2 separate regions of the Homo sapiens genome follow, and region 1 is linked to region 2. Evidence: promoter capture Hi-C in human tissues and cell types (Jung and others, 2019). All regions are on one chromosome and are shown on one strand. Each heading gives the region's core, a stretch centred on a gene start or on the middle of the fragment in contact. The rest is flanking DNA. Distances are from core to core; before and after follow the strand shown.

Region 1 (6,042 bases), core at 1,739-4,238, 250 kb before region 2:
CAGCCATATTGCCTGCATGAGGAATAAGCCATGTGTGGCCTTTCCCCGGGACTCAGGGGACCTGAGCAACCTGGAGGAAGAAACTGAAACCTGGGCTCTCAGATATTGCTGGGAGGCAGCTTCTCAGAGAACACCGGGAGCTCTGCTAGGATCTGAGCTGACACAGTTGGATGGAGGCCCCAAGAAACAGGCATTGGTGCTCTTTGGAGATGTCCTTTCAGGCAGAAGTAGCCACTATGCTGACCAAGAAAGAGGTGACTTGAGTGTTAGCTTTGCCCCACAGGCACGGTCTCAGCTCCTAAAAGTCCAGTTTGGCTCTATCTGTATTTGAAGGAAGGTGTCGACTTGTGTTTTCCTTGAGATCTCTCCCCTCCTCAGGTCTCTTTCTTACCATCAGTAGCCAGCTGTGGCTACAGCTGAGGACAGGAATTTTCTGCAGGGGCTATTCAGCAGGGCATGTCAGGGCCTGCAGGAACTGGTTTAACTTGCTTCTGAGAGTCTTGACTCTGCCTCAGACTCCTTTGGCTTTAGGGTAGGGAGGTGATTCTAGAGGTAGGGAGAGCAGGAGACAGGATACAGCCAAAGGGATCTGTCAAGTCAAAGAGGTCCCTGGAGAGGTGACTTTTTGCTCCACAGAAGGAGGAGAGGGCCTCCCAGGCTTCCACTAAACTATCTGCTCATAGGTCCCAAGACTCCAGCTTCTCTCTTCCTTGTTTTTTTTTTTTTTAATTTTTTGAGGCAGAGTCTCGCTCTGCCACCCAGGCTGGAGTGCAGTGGTGCGATCTCACCACTTTACTCCAGCCTGGGCGACAAAGTTAGACTCCATCTCAAATAATAATAATAATAATAATAATAATAAATAAAGTGATGATAGGTGTGCTTCCATGTACCCCTCCAGATCTACTCTCTGCCCTACTGGGTACTCCTGGTCTATCAGTAGGCCTTCTTGTCCTCTGCCTTCTGGTTAAATTCTCCCAATGGAGATTAGGAGGAAAGAGGATTGGGACAAGAGGTTATTTATGGCCGGGCACCGTGGCTCATGCCTGTAATCCCAGCACTTTGGGAGGCTGAGGTGGGGAGATCACCTGAGGTCAGGTGTTCGAGACCAACCTGGCCAACATGGCGAAACCCCATCTCTACTAAAAATATAAAAATTAGCTGGGCATGGCAGCGCGTGCCTTTAGTCCCAGGTACTTGGGAGACCGAGGCAGAATTGCTTGAACCCGGGAGGCGGAGGCTGCAGTGAGCCAAGATCGTGCCACTGCACTCCAGCCTGGGCGACAGAGTGAGACTCCGTCTCAAAAAAAAAAAGAGGTTATTTATTTTCCACTGACACCCCACCTTCCTAAAAGTGGAGTCACTGCAGACCCCTGTCAGGTGACCCTTCTCATTTGTTTGCTGCTCCCTTCCTGTTGTCCCCTGAAGCCCAATAGTGATCAGGTTTCCACACTGTCACTGGCCCTCGGGCACTGTAACATCTCTCGTTGTCGTTATTAAACTCTCCTCAATTATCCATCTATTTCTTGCTGGGGACCTGATAAATAAGGACATGTATCTTACTACAGATTGCCATCTAACCTGGCTCTGTCATTTGTCTGTAGGATCTCAGTAAGTTACCTAACCTCTCTGAGCTTCGGTTTTCTCATATGTAAAATATTGCAGGAAGAGGAGGTGTGCTCTAAAGTCATTTTTCGCTCTTAGAATCTTTGGTTCTAAGGTGATAAAAGGTGATAATAATTCTAACTCCTATGGAATTCAACCAGGAGGATTGGGCCTGAATGGAAACGTAGGTAAGATTATTCCACTGGGCATTTGGGCTGGAGGAAGGTGCATGCTCAAAATATCCCAGAGTTAAGAGTAGGGAAAAAAGCAAGAAATACCGCCATCTGTACTGCATGTGTATTTATTTGAAACATGATCCTTTCCAAGAAATTCTGCAGAGTTGTGGTGGGAATCAGCTTTTATTTTATCTTCAGCTCTGTTTGTATTTGTCTTCTCTTGTTAGAAAAAAAAATGTCAGAAAAATCTTTCTCCTGGTGTTTTTTTCTCAGTCTCTTTCTATTAATAGTGCCTCTAGGTTTCTCTCTGTATTTCTGTTTCTTTCTGTTTTTGTTTCTCTCCATGAAACAAAGAAAAAAAGAAAAAGACATTTTCCCCTAGGACCCTCCCAAGAGGGAAGAATCAGAAAGTTTCTAAACCAGGCACCTAGCAGGTTTACAAATGACTCAGCCAGAACTGACCAGCACCTGGGCCTGCCAGTTAGAGGAAAAGAGTCCCAGATGCCGGGAAGCTTTGGCCCCAGAGAAGTTTTCCCAGACTGAGTGAGGCAAAGGCTGACAATTACTTCTTTTTTTTTTTAATTTTTTTGAGATGGAGTCTTGCTCTGTCACCCAAGCTGGAGTGCAGTGGTATGATCTCAGCTCACTGCGACCTCTCCCTCCTGGGTTCAAGCGATTCTCCTGTCTCAGCCTCCTGAGTAGCTGGGATTACAGGTGTGCACCACCACACCCAGCTAATTTTTGTATTTTTAGTAGGGATGGTGTTTTACCATGTTGGCCAGGTTGGTCTCAAACTCCTGACCTCAGGTGATCTGCCCACTTCGGCCTCCCAAAGTGCTGGGATTACAGGCATGAGCCACTGCCCGGCCTGATAATTACTTTTAACTTTACTTTTTTTTTTTTTTTTGAGACAGAGTCTTGCAGTGGTGCGATCTCAGCTTACTGCAACCTCTGCCTCCTGGGTTCAAGCAATTCTCCTACCTCAGCCTCCTGAGTATCTGGGATTACAGGTGTGCGCCACCATGCCCGGCTAATTTTTGTATTTTTTGTTTGTTTGTTTGCTTAGTAGAGATGGGGTTTCACCACGTTGGCCAGGCTCGTCTCAAACTCTCGACCTCAAGTGATCCGTCTGCCTTGGCCTCCAAAAGTGCTGGGATTACAGGAGTGAGCCACCACACCCGGCCTTTTAACTTTACATTTTGGAATGAATCAACTTTGGACAGAATCCACCTGGATGTTTCTTGCATCACCCAGGTGACTTATACCTGTGATTTCAGGAAAAGTGCTCATAAACCAGAGACGGAGGCTGAGGTTCTCTTTTACTGGAGTCAGAGATGGCACTAGGATTTTTAGAGCTGGAAGGATGTCAAAGATTATTTACAATAAAACCTCTTTGTTTTACAAAGTGAAGGAACTAAGATGCAGAGATAGAAAGAGTCTTGCCCAAGGTCACACAGTAAATTAATAGTAGAGGCTAACAATAGCTAAAAGGTACGGAATGTTAGCCTCTGCCATACGTCATTTTCATATATTCACATTTAATCCCCTTAATGACTCTATGGAGGAAGCATTAGTATCATCTCATTTTACAGATGAAGAAACTGAGGCCCAGAGAGATAAAGTAACTTGCCTGCACTGGAGTCAGAGTTCTCCACTACTTCACTCTCCACTTCCAGCATTATATTGTAGGTTGATGTAGCTTGATATATCCTGTAACTTTATTTTATTTTATTTATTTTTTGTTTTGTTTTTTGAGACAGGTTTCTCTCTGTCGCCCAGGCTGGAGTGCAGTGGTGCAATGTTTGCTCACTACAACCTCTGCCTCCTGGGTTCAAGCAATTCTCCTGCCTCAGCCTTCCAAGTAGCTGGGATTACAGGTCCACATCACCATGACCGACTAATTTTTGTATTTTTAGTAGAGGCAGGGTTTTGACAAGTTGGCCAGGCAGGTCTTGAACTCTTGACCTCAAGTGATCCAACAGCCTTGGCCTCCCAAAGTGCTGGGGTTGTAGGTGTGAGCCACCACGCCCGGCCATATCCTGTAACTTTAAATAGGCTGTGGTAGGGATATTTATGCCACAGAAATCAGCACATGCTACATATTAGGGCTTGTTTTGTTGATTGTTGAGTTTTTTATTGTGTGGTGTTTTTTGTTGCTGTTTTGTTTTGTTTGTTTTGAGACAGGGTCTTGCTCTGTCACCCAGCTGGAGTGCACTGGCACAATCATGGCTCACTGCAGCCTTGACCTCCCCAGGTTCAGGTGGTCCTCCCAGGTCAGTCTCCTGAATAGTTGGAACTACAGGTGTGCACCACCATGCCCAGCTAATTTATATATATATATATATATAAAATTTTTTATAGATAGGGTTTCCCCATGTTGCCCAGGCTACTCTCAAACTCCTAGGTTCAGGCAGTCGTCCACTGGGACTACAGGCATGTGCCACCACACCTGGTTAATTTTTAAATTTCTTGTAGAGACACGGTCTCACCATGTTGCTAACTTTTGTATTTTTAGTGGAGATGGGGTTTTGCCATGTTGCACAGGCTGGTCTCAAACTCCTAGCCTCAAAGGATCCGCCTGCCTTGGCCTCCCAAAGTGTTGGGATTACAGAAGTGAGCCACTGCACCCAGCGTGAGCTTTTAAGGCCCCAGCACCTGTTGGAGGTACATTCCACCTAAGCCTGGGGACCTTGGCTGAATGCATCTCTAGGCTGTTTAGGAACTGACTTCTTTTTTTTTATTTACTTATTATTATTTTTTTTAGATGGAGTCTTGCTCTCTCCTAGGCTGGAGTGCAACGGCGCAATCTCGGCTCACCGCAACCTCTCCTTCCTGGGTTCAAGCGATTCTCCTGCCTTAGCCTCCCGAGTAGCTGGGATTATAGGCACCTGCCACTGTGCCCAGCTAATTTTTTGTATTTTTTTAGTAGAGATGAGGTTTCCCCATGTTGGCCAGGCTAGTCTCGAACTCCTGACCTCAGGTGATCCACCTGCCTCAACCTCCCAAAGTGCTGGGATTACAGGTGTGAGCCACCACTCCCGGCCAGGAACTCTCTTCTTACTCATACTTCAGAAACCAGGAAAGTCTTCCCCTGATACCTGCCATGGTCACTGATGGCCCCTACTGAAGGTGCAGCCCTGGGCAGGTCACATGACCTGCTACGACCACCAACCTCAGCTGACTGGACCAGGGTGAAAATCTCCATATCCTAGAGTGACCATTGACCCATAGTATTATCTGGCTTGAAAAATTGAGCTAAGCTCTTTTTTTTTTTTTTTTTTTTTTGAGACGGAGTCTCCCTGTTTTACCCAGGCTGGAGTGCAGTGGCGCAATCTCGGCTCACTGCAAGCTCCGCCTTCCGGGTTCACGCCATTAGCCTGCCTTAGCCTCCCAAGTAGCTGGGACTACAGGCGCCTGACATCACCCCTGGCTAATTTTTTTGTATTTTTTTAGTAGAGACGGGGTTTCACTGTGTTAGCCAGGATGGTCTCCATCTCCTGACCTCGTGATCTGCCCTCCTCGGCCTCCCAAAGTGCTGGGATTACGGGCTTGAGCCACCACACCCAGCCCCCTTTTTTTTTTTTTTTTTTTTTTTTGAGACGGAGTCTCACTCTGTCGCCCAGGCTGGAGTGCAGTGGTGCAATCTCAGCTCACTGCAACCTCTGCGTTCCAGGTTCAAGTGATTATCCTGCCTCAGCCTCCCGAGTAGCTGGGACTACAGGCGTGCACCACCATGCCTGGCTACTTTTTGTATTTTTAGTAGAGACGGGGTTTCACCATGTTGGCCAAGCTGGTCTCAAACTCCTGACCTCATGATCTGCCCACCTCAGCTCCCAAAGTGCTGGGATTACAGGCGTGAGCCACCATGCCCAGCCTGAAAAGTTGAGCTCTTTAAGATTTCTTTCAGGAATTTGTACTTGATAAGAAACAACCAAACCTAACTGGAGAAATCTCAATCTTTTCATATCCTGCACACTTAGTTTCTCCTCTCTGAGGCCTTACCTGGTGCCCTGCCCCTTCTGGTACAATTCTCTATTTCCACATACTTAAAGGATTTGCATATCTGTTTACCTGTTAGATTATGAAGACCCTGAAGACAAAATATGATATATTGTCTCCCACTACCTAATATAGTCTCAGGCATTTATTTAGTGAACAACAATAATTGCTTGTCAAAGGGGCATTCTAGGGAGAGGAAAGAATAGCAGTTAATCTCTCTGGGCCTCAAATCTTCCTCTTTAAAATAATGATAATATTTCCTTCA
Region 2 (6,122 bases), core at 352-2,851:
AAAGTAGGAAGCTATCAGTCTCCCTACATGACTCGTTCCACCCTTTGTGGATACTTCTACCTGTAGAAAAAAAGGTTGGCAAACTTGGTGGCATGGTGAGGACAAAGGGCATTTTGAAAGAACCAGTGACTGAGGTAAGCAGAGAATGTGAACGGAAAGAGGGTTAAAGTTCCCCCAAATGGATAATGACAAGACGACGCGGGCACCCTTTTTTTTTTTTTTTTTTTTTTTACCACCCCTAGGGTCCCATTCTTCACCACCACCCATTGGAATGCAAAGTTGGCACTACCACTACCCAAGATGCCCAACAAATCCTCAAAATGTCAGGGCACTCGGCAGCTTCTGAAATGACAAGCTGGTGCCCCTCCCCCACCCCACCCCCACCCCCACCCCCCAAAAAAGAAAAGTCCAATCCAGTCGGTGCAGGTCACCCTGCCCTCTGGGGCAGTTCCAGCCTGCGCAGGGAGGGGTTCCGACCGGAGAACGAAAAAGCACAGATAGACCACCGCTCTTTCCACCCACCCTCAGCGGGGGAAACAAAGGCGGCCTCCTCCGCCCGTAGACACTACCCTAACCAGAGAGGCTCTCCGATTTCCCGGTGCAGCCTGCCCTCCCGCCCCCGCCCGAGCCCCCGCCCCCATGACAAAGAAAAGGCACTCGGCGAGCAAGGCCTTCCTGCCTCCAGGGATGGGGGAGGGGGCTGCACGGGTGAGAAGCCCCCTCCACTCGCCCGTGCTCATACTCCTGGTCCCAGGAACTGCAGAAAGCGGCGGGGAGCCGGAGGCCTCGGCCGCGGAAGCAGGGTCCGGGAGGAGGGTGAGGGTACCTTGAAGTAGCCGCCTTCGTAGAGGGTGTTGGGGGGTCCGAAGATGGCCACCTCCCAGTTGTAGAGGTCGGACTCGTCCACCAGGGTGATCCGGAAGCCCTCCACCGGTTCCTCCTGCAGGGATTTCAGCTCGAGCATCAGGGCCTTCTGCGAGCTGGTCATCTGCTGCTGGGCCATCGCGGCGGCGGCGGCGGCGGCGGCGCCGGGCCCGGGCCCCAGTCCTCACGCACCGGCCGGGCCGGACCAGGCCCCTCCCCTCCGCTCGCCCTCCGGCCGGGCAGCACCGGGCCCCGGTCTTCACACACCCGGCGGGCCAGACCAGGCCCCACACGGCCCGTGGGCCCGCCCGGGGTCCTCCTCACACACGACGCAGGCCGGGCCGGGCCCTTCTCCTCACACTCGGGCCGGGCGAGAGGAGAGGTCGAGGGAGTTAGGAGAATTCGCTACGGGTCCCGGTCCCGGGCCTCCCCCCCCCGGAGGGGGCCTCAACTTGGGGGGGGGGAGAGGAGGTGGAAGCGGAGGAAGGCGGCGGAGGGCCGGCGATGGTGAAGGGAGGGGGCCGGGCCGGCCCGGGAACGCCGCGCTCGCTCGCCCTCTCGTTCTCTTCGGGGGCCGCAGGGGCCGGAGGGCGCGCGGGGCAGGAGAGGGTGGGGGGAGAGCGGCGTGCGGGGGTCTCGCGGCGGTGGCGGCGGGGGCTGCGCGGGGGGAGGGGCGACGGCGGAGGAGGAGGAGAGCGAGAGCGCCTCGCGCCGCGGGAGCAACGGAGCCGAGAAGCAGGGAGGGAGGGAGGGAGGGAGAGAGGGAGGAGGGGCGCACGCCGGGTGCTGGGCGGCTCTCAGCGGCTGGCGGCCCGACGCGCGTGCGCGTGCCCCTCCCTCCCCTCCCCCCACCGTGCCTGGCTCTCCTCCACTACCACCTCCTCCTCCTCCCGTTTCCACGCCTCCTCTCGGTCTCCCGCGCGGTCGCGGCGCTTTGTGACGCTGGCGCGTGTCCCCCGCCCATAAAGATCCCAGAAGCAGCGGGGACCAAGGGCGGGCGCAGGGATTGCCGTGGCCCCAGAGTGACGGTTGTGCGGCTGGACGCCGCAGTTCCAAAGGCGTGCCCGGGAAGGGAACCCAGGTCTCCCGGCTCTCGGGGCCCTCCCCACTGTGGATCCAGGGGCCTCCGCAGCCATCCTGGGACGGGCCTGGTCGCTGCAGGCCCCTCCCCGTGACACCCAGTCTGCGGTCCCTCCACTTAGTAGCTACTTGATTAGGATGTGCTGACAATGTGGGTCTTTTCGGTGGGAACAGACCTTCCCGCAGGCCAGCCCACAGGCAAGTGTGCCCTTTGGCACGTTACTCACCCTGGGTGCGGCAGTTCCACGTGAGAAACGGGGTGAGACAAAAAGGTCAGCTTCTGCTTCCCTTCTTAACTACAAAGAGGAAGTTGTGAGGAAAAAGACAATAACAAACTGGGTCTCTAGCCCTTCTCATTGTGATTTGGGGCAAGTGCTCAGGCTGCCCTTCGCCTTCGCCATTTGTAAAATAAACTACTGTGGTTGAACTTAGGGGTCAAAGTTCCCTATAGGTGCTTGTGGCTTGAATGTCCACCCTGGAACTGAGGGACTTTCGAGATAATCATAACCGAAGTGAGATGTGGGGACAGTCTTTGGTCCCCCCGTGGTTCAGAATACAGTACTCCTTTCTCCTAGGAAGGCATGTCCTAGGATAACTGCCTAAAAAACATTTCCTAGAAAAGCCAGAATATTGTGAGAGTTCTACACACACAGTTTCGGAACTAGACAGATCTTGGTTCCAACCCTAGTTCCATTACTTCTCCCTGTATCATCAGTTTTTTGTTTTTTGGTTTTGTTTTGTTTGAGACAGGGTCTTGCTCTGTCACCCAGGCTGTAGCACAGTGGCGCGATCATGGCCCACTGCAACCTCCGCCTCCCAGGTTCAAGCGATTCTCCCACCTCAGCCTCCCAAGTAGCTAGGACTACAGGTGCATGCCTCCACACCCGGCTGTTTAATCAGCTTCTGTAAAAGGGGATTAATTATACCCAACACAAGCAATTGTAATGATTAAATGTATGTACAGCATTTAGCGTAGTGACTGGCACATGGTTAATGATTCATAGAAACTTGAAAGAAAAAAACTTTAAGGCATAGCTGTATTCTGGATACCACCACTACCCACCCCTTTTATTGAGACAGGGTCTTACTCTGTTGCCCAGGCTGGAGTACAGTAGAGTGATTATAGCTCACTCTAGCAGTAACCTCCTGGGCTTAAGCCATCCTCTAACCTCAGTCTCCCAAGTAGCAGGACCACAGGTGTGCACAGCCATGCCCAGCTAATTTTTGTATTTTTAGTAGAGACGGGATTTCACCATGTTGGCGAGGCTGGTCTCCAACCCTTGACCTCAGGTGATCCGTCCACCTCAGCCTCCCAAAGTGCTGGGATTACTGGCGTGAGCCACTGTGCCCAGCCAAGGACAGTTTTAGATTTATAGAAAAATTGAAAAGATAGTCAAGTTCCCCTACACCTGGCGCCCAGTTCCCCCTTTTATTAACATATTACATTAGTAGAGTACATGTATTACAATTAATGAGCTAATATTGATACATCACTGTTGACTGAAGCTCATACTTCCCTAATTTTTACCTACTGACCTTTTGCTGTTCCAGGATCTCATCCAGGATACCAGACTACATTCAGTTTTCCTGTTTCTGTAGATTCCTCTTGACTGTGGCAGTTTCTTAGACTTTGTTCTGATGACCTTAACAGTTTTGAAGAATACTGGTCAAGTATTTTGTAGACTGTCCCTCAATTGGGATTGTGATGCTTTTCTCATGATTAGACTGGGATTATGAGTTTTTGAGGGTAAGATCACAGAGGTGAAATGCCATTTCATCACATCATATTAAGGGCACAAATAGCAACATGACTTAGCAATGTTGATGTTGACCTTGATTGTCTGGCTGAGGAAGTGTGTCAAGTCTTTCTACTGTAAAGTTACTCTGCCCCTTCCTCCCCTTTTCTATACTGTACTCTTTGGAATGGAGTCACTCTACACAATCCACACTTAAGCAGCCCCCCCTCCTTTTTTTTTGGCCTTTTTTTTCCTGTAAAAGACGAGGTCTCAGTGTTTTAAAACATCCTTTTCTAGCCGCCAACGCTACTGTCCAGGTCTTGAGACCGAACTCTACTGGAATTAGAGCTCCCCTCAGAGAAGAGGGAGTATCCTAGTGAATGCAGCCCCTCTTATCAAAATGATGGTTTATGTCCCATTCTGTCTTTCCCTCCAGTACCAGTCAATTTAGGGACAAGAGGATTGCTGACCCGGAAATGTGAAAGATGATGTTGACACCTTTAATAGCAAGGCGGTGAGCAGATAAATAGGTAGAAAGGTCATCTTCAAAGCATTTCACCCACAAAAACTCATCACAGCCCCACCCTGACCTGGAGGGTGATGAAGCCCTAGTCTAACCCACTGGAACGTATACCTGGCACTCAGACCAGAAGCGGCCCCCTGGGCTCATGTCAACTCACAAACTCACTAAGCATCCACTGCGGGCATGCCTCTATGCTGGGAGGTTGGAAGCTCAATGCGTTAATGAGTTTTATAATCAAGGCTGTTTATTCTCAGGTCACAGGAACTGGAATTCCACAGAACTAGCTCATGTGTTTTTATTCTAGCCAGTAAGACATTGTTTATTAGTAGACTGCCACTGTGTCTTATTCATGCCTGAATCCTCAGCAACAGGCACACCATCTGACACAAAGTAGACACTAAGTAATTGTTCTCAAGAGACTCATGGCCAAGGACAGGAAGACAATGAGTAATCACAAAATCACAAATTGAACCCTACCCTCTATCCCCATGCCTATCTGTTCTCTCAAGCACATAGTAGGTGCTCAAGACTATAAATTCCAAAACTCTACACCAGCTACTCCAATGTTTGGCACATATTAAGTGCTCAAAACATATTTGTTAAAAAGAATGAATGCTAGAAACAGCTTCCTAGAGCTTTCTCATATTGTTTCATAATGGCATGTAGATTGACTTGCCTGATTGGTGCCCTCTGGTGGTAAAGAAAAACAGCACTCAAAATTTAAATTTAAAAAATAATATTTTTTTTTAAAAAGAAAACAGAGCGCTTAACGCTCAGTGTCAGGCATCACCTGGTACTTTCCAACCAGGGTACTTCTTCTTCTTCCTCTTCTTTTTTTTTTTTTTTTTTTTTTAACTGAGACAGAGTCTTGCTCTGTCACCCAGGCTGGAGTGCAGTAGCATGATTTTGGCTCGCTGCAACCTCCGCCTCCTGGGTTCCAGCAATCCTCCCACCTCAGTCCCCGGAGTAGCTGGGACTACAGGCGCAGTGCCACCACACCGGACTAATTTTTGTATTTTTAGTAGAGACAAGGTTTCATTATGTTGCCCAGGCTGGTCTTGAACTCCTGAGCTCAAGCAATCCGCCCACCTCAAACTCTCAAAGTGCTGAGATTACAGGTGTGAGCCACCATGGCAGGCCCACTACTAATTTTAGAGGAAGACTGTGGCTCCTTAAGAGTAGTGTCCAAGTTTTACATATATGTTAACATATTAAATTTCAAAAAGTTGGCCAGGCGCAGCGGCTCATGCCTGTAATCCCAGCACTTTGGGAGGCTGAGGCAGGCAGATCATTTGAGGTCAGGAGTTCGAGATCAGCCTCGCCAACATGGTGAAACTTTTTTCAACATGGTTAAATTTTTTTCCTAAGTATTTTATTTTCTTGTAGCTATTATAAATGGGATTTCCTTCTTGAATTCTTTCTCGGCTAGTTATTACTGGTGTATAGAAATGCTACTAATTTTTGTATGTTGATTTTTTTATCCCACAACTTTTTTTTTTTTTTTTTGAGACAGAGTCTTGCTCTGCAGCCCAGGCTGGAGTGCAGTGGAGCAATCTTGGATCACTGCAACCTCTGCCTGCTGGGTTCAAGCGCTTGTCCTGTCTCAGCCCCCTGAGTAGCTGGGACTACAAGCACATGCCACCATGCCCGGCTAATTTTTGTGTTTTTAGTTGAGATGGGGTTTCACTGTATTGGTCAGGCTGGTCTTGAACTCCTGACCTTAGGTGATCCTCCCGTCTTGGCCTCCCTAAATGCTGGGATTACAGGCGTGAGCCACCATGCCTGGCCATATCCTACAACTGTACTGAACTTATTTATCAGATCTAAGAGCTTTTGCTGGAGTTGTTAGGTTTTTGTAAATACAAGATCATGTCATCTGCATAGAGGGACAATTTTACTTTCTCTTTTCCAATTTGGAT

Evidence for each region. The method cuts DNA at HindIII sites, captures the fragments that hold promoters and counts their contacts. A contact is called where the count stands out against the background at its distance.
Region 1: a contact is called between a fragment that was not itself captured here and the fragment with the promoter of UBE2R2 in region 2, in 4 of the 25 tissues and cell types used here (IMR-90 fibroblasts, dorsolateral prefrontal cortex, hippocampus and 1 more).

Annotation. Positions count from the first base shown.
Region 1 is chr9:34,067,020-34,073,061 of GRCh38, reverse strand. No RefSeq gene overlaps it. Among named protein-coding and RNA genes, the nearest start is that of UBAP2, 21 kb to the right of the region's middle. The HindIII fragment of the contact is 4,573 bases long and covers 702-5,274 here.
Region 2 is chr9:33,812,639-33,818,760 of GRCh38, reverse strand. It overlaps UBE2R2 (ubiquitin conjugating enzyme E2 R2), which reads right to left and starts at 1,601. Exons shown (of 5, transcript NM_017811.4): 1 at 827-1,601. The coding sequence starts at 1,003. It overlaps UBE2R2-AS1 (UBE2R2 antisense RNA 1), which reads left to right. Exons shown (of 5, transcript NR_170204.1): 1 at 1-134. RefSeq lists silencers at 982-1,151, 1,222-1,431, 1,612-1,711 and an enhancer at 2,002-2,091. The HindIII fragment of the contact is 14,786 bases long and covers 1-6,122 here.